Regions from separate parts of the Homo sapiens genome. Here region 2 is linked to region 1. Evidence: promoter capture Hi-C in 16 types of primary human blood cells and fetal thymus (Javierre and others, 2016). All regions are on one chromosome and are shown on one strand. The core of a region is centred on a gene start or on the middle of the fragment in contact, and the rest is flanking DNA. Distances in the headings are between cores, read along the strand shown.

Evidence for each region. The method cuts DNA at HindIII sites, captures the fragments that hold promoters and counts their contacts. A CHiCAGO score of 5 or more calls a contact.
Region 2: a contact is called between the fragment with the promoter of C16orf46 here and the fragment with the promoter of MPHOSPH6 in region 1, in 2 of 17 cell types (monocytes and neutrophils). The highest score is 6.7, in monocytes.

Annotation. Positions count from the first base shown.
Region 1 is chr16:82,167,026-82,172,303 of GRCh38, forward strand. MPHOSPH6 (M-phase phosphoprotein 6) reads right to left here and starts at 3,199. Exons shown (of 5, transcript NM_005792.2): 1 at 3,100-3,199. The coding sequence starts at 3,150. RefSeq lists an enhancer at 3,056-3,200, a cis regulatory region at 3,128 and a silencer at 3,175-3,334. The HindIII fragment of the contact is 21,548 bases long and covers 1-5,278 here.
Region 2 is chr16:81,073,643-81,079,366 of GRCh38, forward strand. C16orf46 (chromosome 16 open reading frame 46) reads right to left here and starts at 3,596. Exons shown (of 4, transcript NM_152337.3): 1 at 3,494-3,596. It overlaps C16orf46-AS1 (C16orf46 antisense RNA 1), which reads left to right. Exons shown (of 2, transcript XR_007065137.1): 2 at 2,782-2,956. RefSeq lists enhancers at 3,128-3,267, 3,359-4,019, 3,858-3,907, 4,020-4,678. The HindIII fragment of the contact is 28,578 bases long and covers 1-4,556 here.

The sequences.
Region 1 (5,278 bases), core at 1,949-4,448:
TTGTCGTCGATAAAGTTTTACTGGTACACAACCATGGTCATTCGGTCTTGAACAACACTGGCAGAGCTGAGTAGTTGTAACAGAGACTGTCTGGCTCATAAGACCAAAATATTTATCATATGGTCCTTTACAGAAAGTTTGCCAAGCCCTGTTCTGAGAGTCTAACAGTGCCAAAATCACAAATAAGCACCCTCTACAACCATTCCATACTGGAAGACCTTCCATCCACATCCTTCTTTTTCTTCTTCCCATTAGGATCACCCTGCAATGGCTGACCAAGTCAGAGGCATTGAAGTGAGTCAGGATTAAATCCTCAACCCTCTTATACTTGCCTAAAAAGTGGTCCCCAACCTTTTTGGCACCAGGGATGGGCTTCCTGGAAGACAATTTTTCCACGGGTGGTGGAGAGGGGAAGGGTAGATGGTTTAGGGATGATTCAAGTGCATTACATTTATTGTGCACTTTGTTTCTATTATTATATTATAATATGTCATGAAATAATTATACAACTCACCACAATGAAGAATCAGTGGAAGACCTGAGCTTGTTTTCCTGAAACTAGACAGTCCCATCTGGGTGTGATGGGAGACAATGACAGATCATCAGGCATTAGATTCTCGTAAGTAGAGCGCAAGGTAGATCCCTCATATGCACAGTTCACAGTAGGGTTTCTGATCCTAGGAGAATCTAGGATTCTGCCACTGATCTGACAGGAGGCGGAGCTCAGGTGGTAATGCAAGCTATGGGGAACAGCTGTAAATACAGATGAAGTTTCGCTCGCTTGCCTGCCCGCTGCTCACTTCCTGCTGTGCAGCCTGTTCCTTACAGGTCATGGACTGGTGCTGGTCCATGGCCTGGCGGTTGGGGACCCATGCTATATAGGACTTAGCTCTGGTTAAGGCACCCTAAGTGCAGCTACTCCATGCCTTCTCACAGTATACTCTGTTCTATCAGTATAGACAGTGTCTCCTGCTATCTTGCCAGTAAGTTTTTTCTTATCAATGACCAAAGCTGCTAAACCAAATAGAGAATGTGGGTGATCTTTTTCCTTCTCCTTTGCTTCCAACGTCCAGTTGAGTCTCCCCATTTGGTGGGGGTGGACATTTAAGTTAATTTCTTTCTTCTTAGTTGCAACTCGGATATTTAGTTTGAGCCTGAGTCACCCAGTACATCATCTGGCTTATTCCAAGAGCTAAAACAACTGCTAAAATCTTTCCAATATCTGCTTGGCCAATTCACTCCACTTCTCTGAAGTTAATGTTATTACCAACCATAAAATCAAACTCTGTTCAGTAAAGATTCAAATTTTGCTAATATGCATGAAAGTGCTTGACAAACTCTAAGTTATGCTGCAATTTGTCCTCCACCCTCATTCACCCATTCATCCCTAACTCCATCCTAGCTCAACTCCATTCAAATCTTGCCCATATAATGTTTACTCTCTCTCTTTTTTTTTTTTTTTTGAGACAGGGTCTCCCTGTGTCACCAAGGCTGGAGTGCAGTGGCGCCATCTCAGCTCACTGCAGCCTTGATCTCCCAAGCTCAAGTGATCCTCCCACCTCAGCCTCCCAAGTAGCTGGGACTAAAGGTGCGTGCCACTAGGCCTGGCTAATATTTTGTATTTTTTGTAGAGATGGGGTTTCACCATGTTGCCCAGGATGGTCTCAAACACCTGGGCTTAAGCGATTTGTCTACCTCAGCCTCTCAAAGTGCTGGGACTACAGGCATGAGCCACTGCGAATGGCCTATCTTTCAAAACATTATGAATGCTTCCTTCCCTCTTTTGGAAATTCCACCTCTTTAAACATGACATGTAACAGTTTGCTACTCTCTAGAAGTAGTGCTTAGTGACAGGCATCACAGAGTACAGAGTAGTAATAAAGAGCCAGGGTTCTGGAGCCAGACTGCCTGAATTCCCGTCCTGTCTACACTACTTATTAGCTGTGTAACTTTGGGTAAATTACTTATTTCTGTTTCAGTTGCCTTAGCTGTAAGAAGAGAGTTACTGCCTGTAGTCACCTCAAAGTGTCATTATGTGAATTGCATAGGTTAATATACGCAAACCACTTCAATCATTGTCTAGTACTATAAATATTTGCCATTTTCTTGATACTGTTCCCCGTTTCAATAGCTTTCCATTGCTCACAAAATAAAGGAAAATATCTTTAATCTGGCCTCAAATTCCCTGCACGTTGTGACCATTGCCTACTCTGCAACCCCATTTCTTAGTACTTGCCTTCCAGACATACTGAATTGTCTCTAATTCTTGGAAATTTCCATGGTTTTCTTTTTCTTTCTTGCCTCTCAGACTTCTGAACTCAGTTTCTCCTAGTTTAGGACGCTGTGCCTTCCACCCTCCCAGTAACCTAGAGACTACCCTGCGAGACTCACCCTCTTCTCCCTGGAAGAAGAGGGAGTTCTGCCAGCAGACTGTCTTTGGACTTGGACTGAGTACTTCTCTGGGTCTCCAGCCTACTGGCCCACCCTGCAGATTTTAGACTTGCATCTCCACAGTCGTGTGATCCAGTTTTAAAAATACCCCCTCTCTCCATACACATATATACACATATACATCTTGTTGATTCTGTTTCTCTGAAGAACTCTACTAAAAGAAGTATTATCAAAATTAAAAAGGAGCTTGAACTCATGTAGCCTAATGCTCTTCTTTTTAAAGATGAGGAAAAGAGATATTCAGAGAAAGAAGTGAATTTACCTAAATTACCCAGCTAAGGAGTTACACTTCCCATATATCATATTTATTGCATATATAAGTAAGCAACAACTTCTCGAGAAGCTCGGTGAGTCCCCAAGGTCCCCAGCGCTTCTACCCTCACTGCACTGGGTAAGCTGTACCCTGACTGCTTCTGTGTACTCAAGCTCCCATCCGCCCGCGGGCCTCCTGAGAGAGTCGGCCTAATTCGTAAGCTGGTTCCCAGTAAACAGTGCAGAGCAGGCGCTAAGTGAATGAATGAGCACGAGAGCTGGAAGCCCTCTGAGGCCTCTCTGGTGTCCCTTGTCCGCCCGCCGCCTCGGCCCCGGCCAGGTTGGAAGGACCGGGTGCCCCTACCGCCCGGAGTGGCGCTCTCAGCGTCCCCGCACCTTCATGCGCAGTAGATTCTTGGACAACCTTGTCTTTCGCTCGGCCGCCATGGTAGCTTCCGCCCAGCGCCGCACTCCGGCCGCGAGCCTCACCGCACATGCGCGGAGCCGCGTGCGCAGCTGCGTCCCTCGCGTAGTGCGCGCCGCCCCGCCCCGCCCCTCCCCTGTGTCTTGCGCGCGGGCGCGGCCACTCAGCGGGCGCTCTGCTGACTGAGAGGCTCGGGTAAGCTCGCGGGGTGGCGGGCGCGGGGATGAGCGCGGCAGACCGCAAAAAAGCCGAAGTCAGAGGACGACCCAGAACTTGGCTTCCCCGAGCCGCGGGTCGCCTTCCCGGGACGTCGGCCTGGCCCCCTCGGAGGCCCATCCTCCCTCGGGGACTCCCTTCCTCAGGGACCCCCTCCACACTCAGTAGTCCTCGCCAGCCTCAGAGAGGTTTCCGCCACGCCTGCCACCCGCCTGGGCCGTGTTACCCACGTGTTTTGTCTTCATAACGTGGGTGGCGGGCTCCCTTTGTTCTGGGTCGCTTTGCAGGGTCCAGGTCGTTTTCTCTTCACCAGGACCCCACGAGTTGCTGCTTTCCTCACAGCAGCCCGGAGTCCCGGGGGAGCGCGGCGGGGGCCGCCCCAGGCAGGCTGGCTTCATTCCCAGGCTGCTGCCGATGCGTGTCTGGCCGAGTGATCTCTGCTAAACAGAAGAATCTCAAGAAATGGCAAGGGATGGAGGCAGGGATGGGTGCCAAAGACACATGAATGAGAACAAAGCCTGGTTTTGATCCAAAGAATTGAAAAGACCATAGCGAGGGGCAACATAGGGAGACCCCACCTCTACAAAAAAAAAAAAAAAAAAAAAAAAAAAAAAAATATATATATATATATATATATATATACACAAAAAATATACAAAATATACATACAAAAAATATATACAAAATATACAAAAAATGTACAAAAGATACAACAAAAATAGCTGGGTGTGGTGGCACGGATCTGTGGTCTCCACTACTTGGGAGGCTGAGGCTGGAGAATCACTGGAACCCGGGACGTCGAGGCTGCAGTGAGCTGACATCCCGCCACTGGACTCCAGTCTGGGCTACAGAGTGAGGCTTTGTCTCAAAAACAAAACAACAAAACAAAAAAGAATTTAAAAAACCACTGAAAATAGGGTAGCGTTCCTACCCTGGTGTTTAATGCTCTGGGTACCACCTAAACACGTTTTCGAAAACCATTCCCAGGTCCGACGCTTTGGAACACCCTCAAGCTAATAGCATCTCGGCTGATACCATGAGTTCTACGTCAGATTGTTGACCTGGTCACCTTAGGGCTAATTAGTTCACTTAATCCCCATAAGAACCGGAAAGAAGGTATTGTCATCGTGTTGTTAAGGATTCTGAGACACAGAGTGGGTAACGCACTTGGTGTTCACACAGCTAATCCATGTTAGAGCTGAAATTCAAACACCGATTTGGATGTTAAAAGCCCTTTAGGTTTTCCCAGGGGTAAATAAAATCATTGTAATGTACCAAGTGGCTACAGAATCTCATTCACTTGTGACTGTGTGTGAGATGCCGGGGGTATAATAGCGTGTAAAAACACATATCCCCACCTTTCCTGAAGCTGATATTCTGGACGTAAGTAAGTGGCGACTGCTATGAAAGAGAGAAAACAGTGATGTGACAGAGTAACGCTTAGGGTTACTTTAGACCAGGTGGTTTGGAACGGCCCTTGTCAGATGATGGTGCTAAGGCTTGAAAGTTGAGAAAAACGTGTTTTATGAAGAGTTGGAGGTAGAGTGTGCTCAGAAGACAGCATCAACTGTAAAGGTCCTCAGATATGAACAAGACAAAGTCCGTGTTAAAAGTTTTACAAGTGGAAACAGTAGAGGTTAATCATAAGCCACATTGCATCCCCCAAAATTCATATGTTGAAGTTCCAACTCCCAGTGCCTCAGAATGTGAATGTATTTGGAGACAGTCCTTTTTAAAGAGGTGATTAAAACAAGACCCTTAGGGTGAGCCCTAATCCAGTCTGACTGATGTCGTCATAAGAAGAGGAAATTTGGACACAGACACCAAGGTTGTGTTTGCATAAAGGAAAGACTATCTGAAAGCCAAAAAAATAAAAAAAATTTAAAAAATCTCTCAGGAGAAACCAAACCTGCCAACACCTTGATCTTAGACCTC
Region 2 (5,724 bases), core at 2,346-4,845, 1.1 Mb before region 1:
ATGACGTAGTCTTCTAAAACAAACTTGTCTTAGCTAGCAGCAGCAGAAGTCAGAGATACAAAGCACAAGAGGAATTCAATGCATTGTTGCTGGCTTTGATGAAGTGGGGGTCACATCCCAAGGAATGTGGATGGCATTTAGGAGCTGAGAAAAGACCCTGGTTTACAGTGAGGAATTAAACAGGGATCTCAGTTCTACAACTTCAAGAAACTGAATTCAGCCAACAGTCTGAATGATCTTGGAAGTGGGTTCTTCCAATAAGAGTCTAGACTGGATGACTTAGGAGATCTTAAACAGAGAACAAAGCATCAACAGAAAACTAATACAATAATAATTCAGCTTAAATACTTCTGCTTAAGTACTTTCAACGACTGAGTGCTCGTAACTTTACAGGAATGTTTTTTCTTTCCATTGGAAGCTCTAAAGATTCGAATGATCTCAAATTAAGTCATCCGCAAGCCTGCAAATTTTGTTCCTCAGTTCTTGGTATTCTTCTCAAATGCAAATCTGAAAACATCTGAAGACAGCTATCATTTTGTCAGATACAAATCTCAAGTTCCTCATCATCTTAAGAATGCAAAATTACCTGTCTCTTAAAATGTGGTGCCTGGAACTGAAAGCAATACCTCAAAAGTGGTCTGACTAGAAGTGTCTGCTTTGAAATCTGACTCCTTTTGATCTGAAATCTACATCTATTAATTAAACAAAGTTACTATATTTTTTTAAAAGTGTAACTCAATCTTTTTTCTTTCTTTTTTTTTTAGACAGAGTCTCGCTCTGTTGCCAGGCTGGAGTACAGTGGTATGATCTCAGCTCCCTGCAACCTCTGCCTCTTGGGTTCATGAGATTCTCCTGCCTCAGCCTCCTGAGTAGCTGGGACTACAGATGCGCGCCATCACGCCCAGCTAATTTTTGTATTTTTAGTAGAGACAGGGTTTCACCATGTTGGCTAGGATGGTCTCGATCTCTTGACCTCGTGATCCGCCCGCCTCAGCCTCCCAAAGTGTTGGGATTACAGGCATGAGCCACCACACCCAACCCTATAACTCAATCTTGATTAACACTGAGCTTGAGGTGAACTACAACTTCCAGATTTTTTTTTTTTTCACATGAATGGCTAAAAATTCCTGTCTTCTTTACTCTGTAACCATGCTGTTGATTTTCTTTTCTTTTTCTTTATTCTTTTTGTTTTACTTAGATGTAGACTCCAAATGCATCAGATCCTTGTAAAATTTCCCCTTTTGTTTTTGGACCATTATTAAACCTGCGTAGACAGTTCGCAACCTAACTCTGACTTCCCACAGTTTGACCATTCCTTCTTGCTTGATGACTCCATTAATTTGATGAGGATGCCTTCTGTATCTCCATCTACATCACGGATAAAGACGTTGAGAAGGATGGGTAAAGGATAATGCCCTCTGGGTATCCCTTTCACTTGGACATTTGCTAATTATTCAACTAGCTGCAAATTCACCTTCATCTTACTCCCTATACAATGACCTGGCCTATGTTTCTAAATCTTTTCTACAGGAATCCAGATCCATCCATTTAGATAGTCTTTTTTTTTAGAGGAACCTACCAAGAGTTATAGAAGTTGATGTCTCTCTCTCTCTCTCTTTTTTTTTTAACACCTATTGCCTAGATCAGGGATAAAGAATACATTCTGGCCAAGCACGGTAGCTCACACCAATAATCCCAGCACTTTGGGAGGCCGAGGCCGGTGGATCACTTGATGTCAGGAGTTCAAGACCAGGCTGGCCAATATGATGAAACCCCATCTTTACCGAAAATACAAAAATTAGCCAGGCATGGTGGCTCACGCCTGTAGTCCCAGCCACTTGGAAGGCAGAGGCAGGAGAATCGCTTGAACCCGAGAGGCAGAGGTTGCAGTAAGCCGAGATTGCACCACTACACTCCAACCTGGGTAACAGGGTGAGACTGTCTCAAAACAAAACAAAGAAAATTCTGAATTGTCAACTCCAAACTAGTGGCTACCTAGAGTGTTGTATTGAGAAGGATCTTATGACCTGACTATAGCAGGAAAAATTTCTGGGGTTGATTAATTATGTCTGCCAGAAAATAGAGTGTGCCACATGTTTGCCAGTCTGTCTATATAGTCAGATTACAAATATCTTACCGTAGCTTCCTATACCTGGTTGACAGATTCCTAATCCATTAAGGGCAGGGGAATGTTGAAGGACCAGGAGAAACCAAGGCCCAGGGTATTAAGTCAAACGCAAGCTGTTTATGTCAAAAGCAGATAGATGGTAATCTCTCAAAACTCCTTATCACCTTGCCTCAACTTCTCATTGGCTCTCCACTGTGCCACACACCCTCATCTTCCTACAAGCTATAGGTTTAAAGGAATCTTAAATTCCAACCAGGGAAAGATGAGTTTCTGGCAGCCTCATTTGGAATTTGAATGAACGTTCCTGTGGGTCGGCTCCTTAACAACCTATGCTGAATGAAGGAATAATCATTAGAAATATTGTTAGCCATGGCAGAAGTTAAGTTTCTTAATACAGGACCAATCTTCACTTACATGAACCAGTTAAATAGGTCCTGAAGACTGACCTGGGCATCCTGATCATTTGTGACACAGTTTCTACAGGAAAATGAGTTGGGAGTCGCATTTAGAAACACACTGGAAGGAGCTGAACCTTTGTCTGAAAGTTAAGCACCCGCGCCACCCAACTTGCACAATTTGTTCATATTTCCAAGAGTATAAATTTTATCCTCCTTGTTAATTATATGTGCCTTCTGCTTATTATATGCCTACAGGTCACAGGAACCTCAAGTATTTCACAGAATGATGCCAAGGAGCGCAGTTTCTACACCATCCCTCCCGATCAGACCACATCTATTCCAATCTCAGTCTCAAACTCTTCCCCTTTTTCAACTCACATTAATGAATTCACTAAGTACCTAGCACTGAGAATAAAAAGCTAAAGCAGCATCCGTCTTCTCTACTCTCACACAGCTTACAGTCCACAGCAAAGCGCAAGTCATCAAACACACGCGCTCCACCTGCCACCCCTAAAGCCCAGGCGCATCACGCTCGGCTCCACCTCTTCATCTAGCCCCGCCCCTTCCTGCAGGCCACACCCCTTTCTCTATCAGGCTCCTCCCTTTATGCCATAAGCCTTTTTTCCTCATCTAGCTCTTCCCCTTCCTCCGCCAGTTCCTACCGTGCCACAAAGACGCCTGCCCTTCTTTCAAACTATCCCATTCAGAAAAGCGTTCTGGATTGCCCGTTCGAATTCCTCCCCGTCCTCCGTCTACCCACCCTTAAAGGGTTCCGCTCCCAACGGATCCTCCTCAGGCCCCGCCCCTCCCCAGACCCCGCCCGCTCTGGGGAAGCCCCGGCACATAGTGCCTCTGCCTTTCGCTCCCTCTCGCTTCCTTTCGAACGAGGCAGGGACTCTCGCTCTGTCGCCTTTGGAGTGGTCCCGGGCCTTGCCCCAGGGGTGGAGAAATGGCCGCTCACACCTACCTGTGGGGCCAAGCGGATGGAAGGCCCCGAGACAGCTAGTCCCGGCCTACTGGCAAGAGCTACTCAGGTCGCTGCCGGATGGGCCGTTGCCTTGGGTTACGACCACGCTGGGGGCGGGACCGCGGCGGAAGTGACGTAGCCCAACAAAGCCTAGCACTGGCGAGGCGGTTCGTGGCATCTCCTATCCGCTCCGGGCGCTGCCGCCGGAAGGGCCAGCGACGGAGGGTCTCAGATGGCGGGGCTTGAGGCCCACCCGGGCTCTCGGGTCGGCGAGTCCCGTTGGGGAGCCCTTGTGCCTGCTAGGATATTTAGCAGATGCCAGGCGGCCAGAAACGTCCTCACTTTTCTCCCTCGGCCCTCTGGGGAACCGCCGTGAGCGTTTCCCACGGACACAAACTTAACAGGCCCAGAACGTCCAGGGAGGACGCGTTGTGAGCCTCAAAGAGCCCACTTACGTGACCGACAGCACCAGGCCGACGGGCACTCGCTGAACTGCTGGCCCGGAGCAGCACAGCTCTTAAGTGGGCAGTGGCATCTTTTATACAAATAAAGGAAGGTGGCCCCACGTCCCTAAAACAACAGCTTGCTGAAGAGAGATCGCAAAGCATCCCCCACTCCAGCTCGGGTCTGACTCCAAAGCCCTTCTGCTTTAGAAAGTGTGACTATTTCTGCTGTAGAAAACCGGTATCTAGGCCAGGCGCGGTGGCTCACGCCTGTAATCCCAGCACTTGGGAGGCCGAGGTGGGTGTATCACCTGAGATCAGGAGTTCGAAACTAGCCTGGTCAACATGGCGAAACCGTGTCTCTACTAAAAATACAAAAATTCGCCGGGTGTGGTGGCGGGCGCCTGTAATCTCAGCTATTTGGGAAACTGAGGCAGGAGACTGGCTCGAACCCGGGTGGCGGAGGTTGCAGTGAGCTGTGATGGCACCACTGCACTCCAGCCTGGAGAGCAAAACTCAAGTCTCAAAAAAAATTTTGGTATCTAAGTTCTCTAGCACTGTGATTGCTCCAATGAGACGGATTCAGCTATAATTCTATTCCAACTTTTTTCATACGTGTAAGCTTAGGTACCTTGTTCACATAAATAGGAAGATGCAAATAAAAGGGGTTTTATTGTATCTCAAGCTAGTAAGTATTAACCAAAAACATTTAAATGTTTTATCAGTTGACAATTTGTTTTGGTCTTCCTTCAGATCTATTGAAAACAGCTGGGCACCGTGGCTCACACCTGGAATCCCAGCTGAGGCAGGAGGCTCCCTTGAGCCCAGGAGTTGAAGGTTGCAGTAAGCTATGATTGTGTCACTGCACTCCAGCCTGGGAAACAGTGCAAGACCTTGCATATTAGAAAAAAGTTTCTGGGAAGTATACCAAAAGTCTTAACTAAGATTTGCTAAATGAATATTAATTAAATAACCTAACGGCAAGTACATGGGGAAGTTGGAGGATCTAGAACCTGACTTCCTTCACACTAACTATTCCTGCATTTAGCAGGTAAAAGCCCGATAGCATGATTGAGTGGAAACATGAAGGGACAAGGGTTTGGCTAGTTATGTTTATAAAAAGTCAACATAGGAATTGAGTCAAGATACCAGAAACTCTACTTATAGTAAGATCCCACTTTGCAAAAACGGAGAATGGAAGCGTACAGAACTGTACCTTCTCCTCAATTTTGCTGTGACTGTAAACTTCCTCTAACACATAAAATGTATTTTAAAGAAAAAAAGCCAGGAGTGGTGGCTTGCGTCTGTAATACCAGTTACTCACAGGAGAGGCTAAGGCAGGAGAATCACTTGAGACCAGCTTGGGAAGTGTCACAAGACCCCATATCTATTTTTTAAAATTAAAGGGAGATGGGTGGGTGCGGTGGCTCACACCTGTAATCCCAGCACTTTGGGAGGCTGAGGCGGGTCAATCACTTGAGGTCAGAAGTTCAAGACCAGCCCAGCCAACATGGCGAAACCCCATTTCAAAACCCTAATACAAAAATTAGCCGGGTGTGGTGATGGACGCCTGTAATCCCAGCTACTCAGGAGGCTGAGGTGGGAGAATCACCTGAACCCGTGAGGTGGAGGTTGCAGTGAGCCAAGATCGCACCATTGCACTCCAGCCTGGGCGGCAGGAAAGGCCTGTTGCAGGGAAGAAAGAGGAATTTAATCCTGGTGTAAAGAAAGGCACCTCTTTAAGTATGGGAAGGAAGGTGTGATTTGGTCTGAAAGAACACAGTAAAA